2 separate regions of the Homo sapiens genome follow, and region 2 is linked to region 1. Evidence: promoter capture Hi-C in 16 types of primary human blood cells and fetal thymus (Javierre and others, 2016). All regions are on one chromosome and are shown on one strand. The core of a region is centred on a gene start or on the middle of the fragment in contact, and the rest is flanking DNA. Distances in the headings are between cores, read along the strand shown. Region 1 holds the start of IER5L (immediate early response 5 like). Region 2 has its middle 23 kb from the start of PTGES.

The links. Contacts are between HindIII fragments. The CHiCAGO score rates a contact against its expected background, and 5 or more counts as called.
Region 2: a fragment that was not itself captured here is called in contact with the fragment with the promoter of IER5L in region 1 in 1 of 17 cell types (M0 macrophages); the score reaches 5.0 in M0 macrophages.

What each region holds. Positions count from the first base shown.
Region 1 is chr9:129,176,813-129,179,661 of GRCh38, reverse strand. It overlaps IER5L (immediate early response 5 like), which reads left to right and starts at 1,401. Exons shown (of 1, transcript NM_203434.3): 1 at 1,401-2,849. The coding sequence starts at 1,610. The coding sequence ends at 2,824. RefSeq lists enhancers at 1-516, 517-1,440, 1,178-1,472 and silencers at 1,197-1,576, 1,807-2,146. The HindIII fragment of the contact is 12,631 bases long and covers 1-2,849 here.
Region 2 is chr9:129,774,119-129,776,967 of GRCh38, reverse strand. No RefSeq gene overlaps it. Among named protein-coding and RNA genes, the nearest start is that of PTGES, 23 kb to the right of the region's middle. RefSeq lists an enhancer at 1,336-1,902. The HindIII fragment of the contact is 3,905 bases long and covers 1-2,849 here.

The DNA.
Region 1 (2,849 bases), core at 152-2,651:
ATGGGCCTCCCCCCTGAGTCCAGCCCCACAAGGTCCACCTATCTCTGGGAGACTCTGCAGACCTCGTTCATCCTTCAGGGATCCACTCATGGACCCTCCTCAGGCAAACCTCCAGACCATTTCCAAGAGCCTCCAGAGCTGTCTGGGCAGCCCCCACCCCAGGCACCTTTGAAACCCCTGGGAGCAGCAACCAGCCCCCTTCAGGCCTCTTGGTCCAGATAGAGCGCCCCCAGGAATCAGCAATCCTGTCCCTCTCTTCTCCCACTGTCTCAGTCCCCAGCTGGGACCTGAAGGGTTCAGGATAAGAAGGAAAGCTGTGTCAACAGAAGTTAAGTCGGTGAGTCCCCGGGCCTTTGGTATTCACCTCCCGTCTCGAGCGCAGGGTCCTGTCCCAGCTCCTAGCTCCGCCCCCTGGGAACTGTGTGGTTCCCCAAGTCACTCCACTCCTCCGAGCCTCAGGCCCCTCCTCTACAAACGTTAGAGTGAGGCATTGGGGAGTTGCTGGGAAGGGCCTGCCCCATATTAGGCCCATAATAATAGTCCCTATTGTCATTATTATTAGTTAGGCACGAAAGGAAAGGTTACAGAGCTGGTGATTAGGGCACTCAGCGTTTCGGCTCCCAGGACGCTTTTGAGCCTCAGCTGGTCGCGAGGTCCACACACTCCCTGGGTCATGCCTGGCCTCGGAACTCTCTCCATCAGAGAAGGTCAAAATTCACGATGTTTTGGTTTTTCCTGTCAGACAAATGGGGAGGACTTCCCTTCCGCAAGCATTCCCAGAGGCCCCTCGACCAAAAAGTCAAGGAGTCAGGCCCTACATTCTCTGCGGTAGAGGGTACCCCCAAAACCTCGCTCCTTTGATGTTCCCCAGTGTCAAGCCGGCGGCTCCACCAGCCTCCTGTAGAGAGGCCTTGACTCCCGCGGGTCACTCGGGGGGGCGACAGGTGCGCAGGTGGAGGCGCCGCGCCGCTGGGGGAGCGATGAGCGGCGCGCACCTGCCGCAGGTGAGGCCCAGCCGTGCGGAAAGGGGAGGAGCCGTCGCCGCAGCACTCAGGTGAGCCGACCCCCGGCTCCCGGGACCTAAGGCGAGGGCAGCCGCGGGCTTCAACGTGGCCGCTGCCAGGCGACCTATGCTGCAGACTGCGGCCCCGGCGGCTCCGAGTCCCGCGCGGCGCGGCAGCCCCAGGAGAACATTCGAGGCAGCAGCGGCGTTGGAGGCCCGGGGTCCGTTCGGTATTTGAATAGCACAAAGGAACCGCCTTGGTCTGATTGGCCAGCCGAGTAGCCCCGGGGCGGGCTGCGCCTGTCACTCAGGAGACTCTCAGAGCTCCTATTGGCTCTTCTCATGTGGGGCGGGGCCCGGGCACCCGGCTAAATAGCTGGGGCCGGGGCCGGCCGAGACTCATTGCTTTGGCGCCGTCTGGGGAGCGCGAGCCCGCGGGTGGCGCGCGGCGCATGGTGGCGGCTCCTTTCGGAGCGCAGCCGAACCTCTGACCCGGACTCCGTTACCCCTGCCCGGCGCGCCCCGGCGGCCGGCTGGAGGCAGAAACAGCAGAAGCGTTAACAGCAGCAGCGGCGGCGGCTGCTCCGCCGCCGTCTCCGCGGGAGCATGGAGTGCGCCCTGGACGCCCAGAGCCTGATCAGCATCTCCCTGCGCAAGATCCACAGCTCCCGAACCCAGCGCGGCGGCATCAAGCTGCACAAGAACCTCCTGGTGTCCTACGTGCTCCGCAACGCGCGCCAGCTCTACCTGAGCGAGCGCTACGCCGAGCTCTACCGGCGCCAGCAGCAGCAGCAACAGCAGCAGCCGCCCCACCACCAGCACCAGCACCTAGCGTACGCGGCGCCGGGCATGCCGGCCAGCGCGGCCGACTTCGGCCCGCTCCAACTTGGCGGCGGCGGGGACGCGGAGGCGCGCGAGCCGGCCGCCCGGCACCAGCTGCACCAGCTCCACCAGCTCCACCAGCTGCACCTCCAGCAGCAGCTGCACCAGCACCAGCACCCGGCGCCCAGGGGCTGCGCGGCGGCGGCGGCGGCCGGAGCGCCCGCGGGCGGCGCGGGGGCGCTCTCGGAGCTGCCCGGGTGCGCCGCGCTCCAGCCGCCGCACGGCGCGCCCCACCGCGGGCAGCCCTTGGAGCCTCTGCAGCCGGGTCCTGCGCCGCTGCCGCTGCCGCTGCCGCCGCCCGCGCCCGCTGCGCTCTGCCCGCGGGACCCTCGCGCCCCGGCCGCCTGCTCCGCGCCCCCAGGGGCCGCCCCTCCGGCCGCCGCCGCTTCTCCGCCCGCCTCCCCGGCCCCCGCCTCCTCCCCCGGCTTCTACCGGGGCGCATACCCTACCCCTTCGGACTTCGGCTTGCACTGCAGCAGCCAGACCACCGTGCTGGACCTAGACACTCACGTGGTGACCACGGTGGAGAACGGCTACTTGCACCAGGACTGCTGCGCCTCCGCCCACTGCCCCTGCTGTGGCCAGGGCGCTCCGGGACCGGGCCTGGCGTCCGCCGCCGGCTGCAAGCGCAAGTATTACCCTGGCCAGGAGGAGGAGGAAGACGACGAGGAGGATGCGGGCGGGCTGGGGGCCGAGCCCCCCGGGGGCGCCCCGTTCGCCCCCTGCAAGCGCGCCCGCTTCGAGGACTTCTGCCCGGACTCGTCCCCGGACGCGTCCAACATCTCAAACTTGATCTCCATCTTTGGCTCCGGCTTCTCGGGGCTGGTGAGCCGACAGCCGGACTCCTCGGAGCAGCCGCCGCCGCTCAACGGGCAGCTGTGCGCCAAGCAGGCGCTCGCCAGCCTCGGCGCCTGGACTCGAGCCATTGTCGCCTTCTAGGGACCCCCGAGGGCACAGGGACCCG
Region 2 (2,849 bases), core at 118-2,617, 600 kb before region 1:
CTTTCAGCCTGGAGGGAGAAGCATTTCTTCCCGCTAGGATAATGGCCAATTCAGAGGCCCTAGACCATGCTGTCCCCAGAGCCTGGGTGCATTGCTGATGACGAGATCCCAGCCGGGGGTCAGGCCTCCCAGGACTGTCAAGCTGGGCTGCTTGAGTCCCTGGCTCCAGGGGTGGGGGTGGGGCTGAATGGCAAGGGAGAGAGCTGGTCCATTCCAGGCTCCAACCTCAGAACCCTCTGGGAGTAAGATTACCCAGCCCTGTGCTCGGGCTGAGCAATCAACTATAGCGCACACGCTCCTTTACTGTGGTTCCGAGATAGTTAATTGAAATCTGGATACTCTGGGTAAAGTCAGAACATCCAGCTGGGCCCAGCATGGGAGATCAGCTTGATGAGTCTCCCGCACCCTATTCTGGGCATCAGCAGAGTCAGTTCTCTGAAGAGTCTTTTTCATATATATCACATAGATAGAGAGATAGGCAGGTTGGTAGGTAGGTAGATAGGTCAATAGGTAGGTAGGTAGGTAGTTAGACATAGGTATCTATCTATCTATCTATCTATCTATCTATCTATCTATCTATCTATCTATCTATCTATCTTACTGTAGTTTAGCACAGACATTGGTTAAGTCATGTCACTCCTCTGAACCTCAATTTTCTCATCTCTAAAATGGGGATATTAGGCCGGGCGAGGTAGCTCATGCCTGTAATCCCAGCACTTTGGGAGGCCAAGGCAGGTGGATCACCTGAGGTCAGGAGTTCAAAACCAGCCTGGCAAACATGGTGAAACCCTGTCTCTACTAAAAAATACAAAAAAAATTAGCCAGGTGTGGTGGCACGCACCTGAAGTCCCAGCTACTCGGGAGGCTGAGGCAGGAGAATTGCTTGAGACTGGGAGCCAGAGGTTGCAGTGAGCCAAGATCACACCATTGCACTCCAGCCTGGGTGACAGAGCAAGACTCTGCCTCTAAAAAATATAAAATAAAATAAAATAAAATAGAGATAATAATAGACCCACCTCCTAGGATTGCTACATGAGGGCAATGAACTGATCTACATAAAGCACCAAGCATAGTGTCTGGCAGGTAAAGTTGGCCAGTAATGTCATCAACATTGTTATATAATAATAATTATTGTCATTAATTTTATTGCCCAACTGGCGTCCCAGCCTGAGCTGAAGCTCTGTCTCTTGGCCACCCTGTCCAGGAGGTATGAGCCTGTTTTCTTGGGCCAGATCTTCTGCTTGGCTTGAAGCCAAAGTGTGACTTCCCAACCTCTGCATGCAGCCCCCTCCCCAGGGTGCTGGTTGGTCTCTCCTCTCAGCTGCTGCTGCAATGTGCTTCACAGTGACAACACACCCACAGCTCCAGTGGCAGTTGATGCATCCTTGTGGCCAGAATCATGCCTGGCAGGACGCATGTGGCAAAGGGCTTGTCTGGGTCGGTGCTATGCTCTCTGTGCCAGGGAAAATCCAGCTCTTGGAGTGGGTGAGAGCAGGGAGGCCTTCATGGTGGTGGAGTTAGGGGATGGGAGAGACAGGGAAGCAATGAGGGGCTTGCACAGAAAATATCGTTTTACCCTAAGTACCCAGATGACAAATGAGACCCAAAATGACCTTTGGCAGGGGCCGTGGCTTCTGGGGACCCCAGCGTTTGACAGAGCAGGTGGCAGAGCCGCAGGACCCAGCTCTAGTGTGTGGCAGTTTGTTGGTTTCATTGCCGTTGCTGGGCCAGACGTGCACTGAGGACCCCGGGATAAAGGGGTTTACTGTGAGGATGCTGGGGCCCAAGACCTCGTGGGCACAGGACCCAGGTGAAGACCCCAGGGCCCGTGAAGAGCCGAAGTGGATTTCACTGTAGGGGCTTCTTGTCATCCCCAGGGGTACACATTCTTGTGGCCGCTCCTGCTGCTGGCAGCCGAGTCCTTGGCCACGAGCCCAGCCTCCTCTGGGGGGTGGGTCTCAGCCCAGGCCCACATCGGGCTGTTGATTTCATTGGCTGCTGGCTGGCCTCGCCATTGGCTGCTTGCAGCCAGGTGCTCACCCCTGCCCATCAGCTGTGGCCATGGTGGTGCCAGCAGGGAGAGGAGCATGTGACTTGCACGTGAGGAGTAGCCGAAGGCTTCTTCCCTAGGGGACATGTGTCTACCTCGGGGCGATGCGTCTACCTGTGGATGGGGAGGGACCCCTTATTGGGGCCCAGGCAGGTCCGCATTCTGGGCCTTGTCCAGTACACCCTCTGGTTTCCAACCAGCCAACCAGGCTCCTGGGGGACCCACCAACCCTCCCCTTTCTTCTCCGTACTTCTCTCCTCACCTGGTAGACACACATGTCTTCATTTTGGTTCTTACGTTGAGAGACAAACCCATCCTTCCCTCCCTTTCTTCCTTCCTCCCTCCCTCCCTCCCTCCCTCCCTTCCTTCTCTCTCCCCTTCCTTCCTTCCTTTCTTTCTTTCTTTCTTTCTTTCTTTCTTTCTTTCTTTCTTTGTTTCTTTCTTTCTTTCCTTCCTTCCTTCTTTCTTTCTTTCTTTGTTGGTTTCTTTCTTTCTTTGTTTCTTTCCTTCCTTCTTTGTTTGTTTGTTTCTTTGTTTCTTTCTTTCTTTCTTTTTTCTTCCTTTCTTTCTTTCTCTCTGTCTCTCTTTCTCTCTTTCTTTTCTTTCTTTCTTGCACCTAGGTTGGAGTGCAGTGGCATGATCATGGCTCACTGCAGCCTCGACCTCCCAGCCTCAAGTGATCCTCCCTCCTCAGCCTCCTAAGTAGCTAGGACCACAGACATACACCACCATGCCTGGCTATTTTTTTTTTTTTTAACTTTTTGTAGAGACAAGATCTCCCTGTATTGCCCAGGCTGGT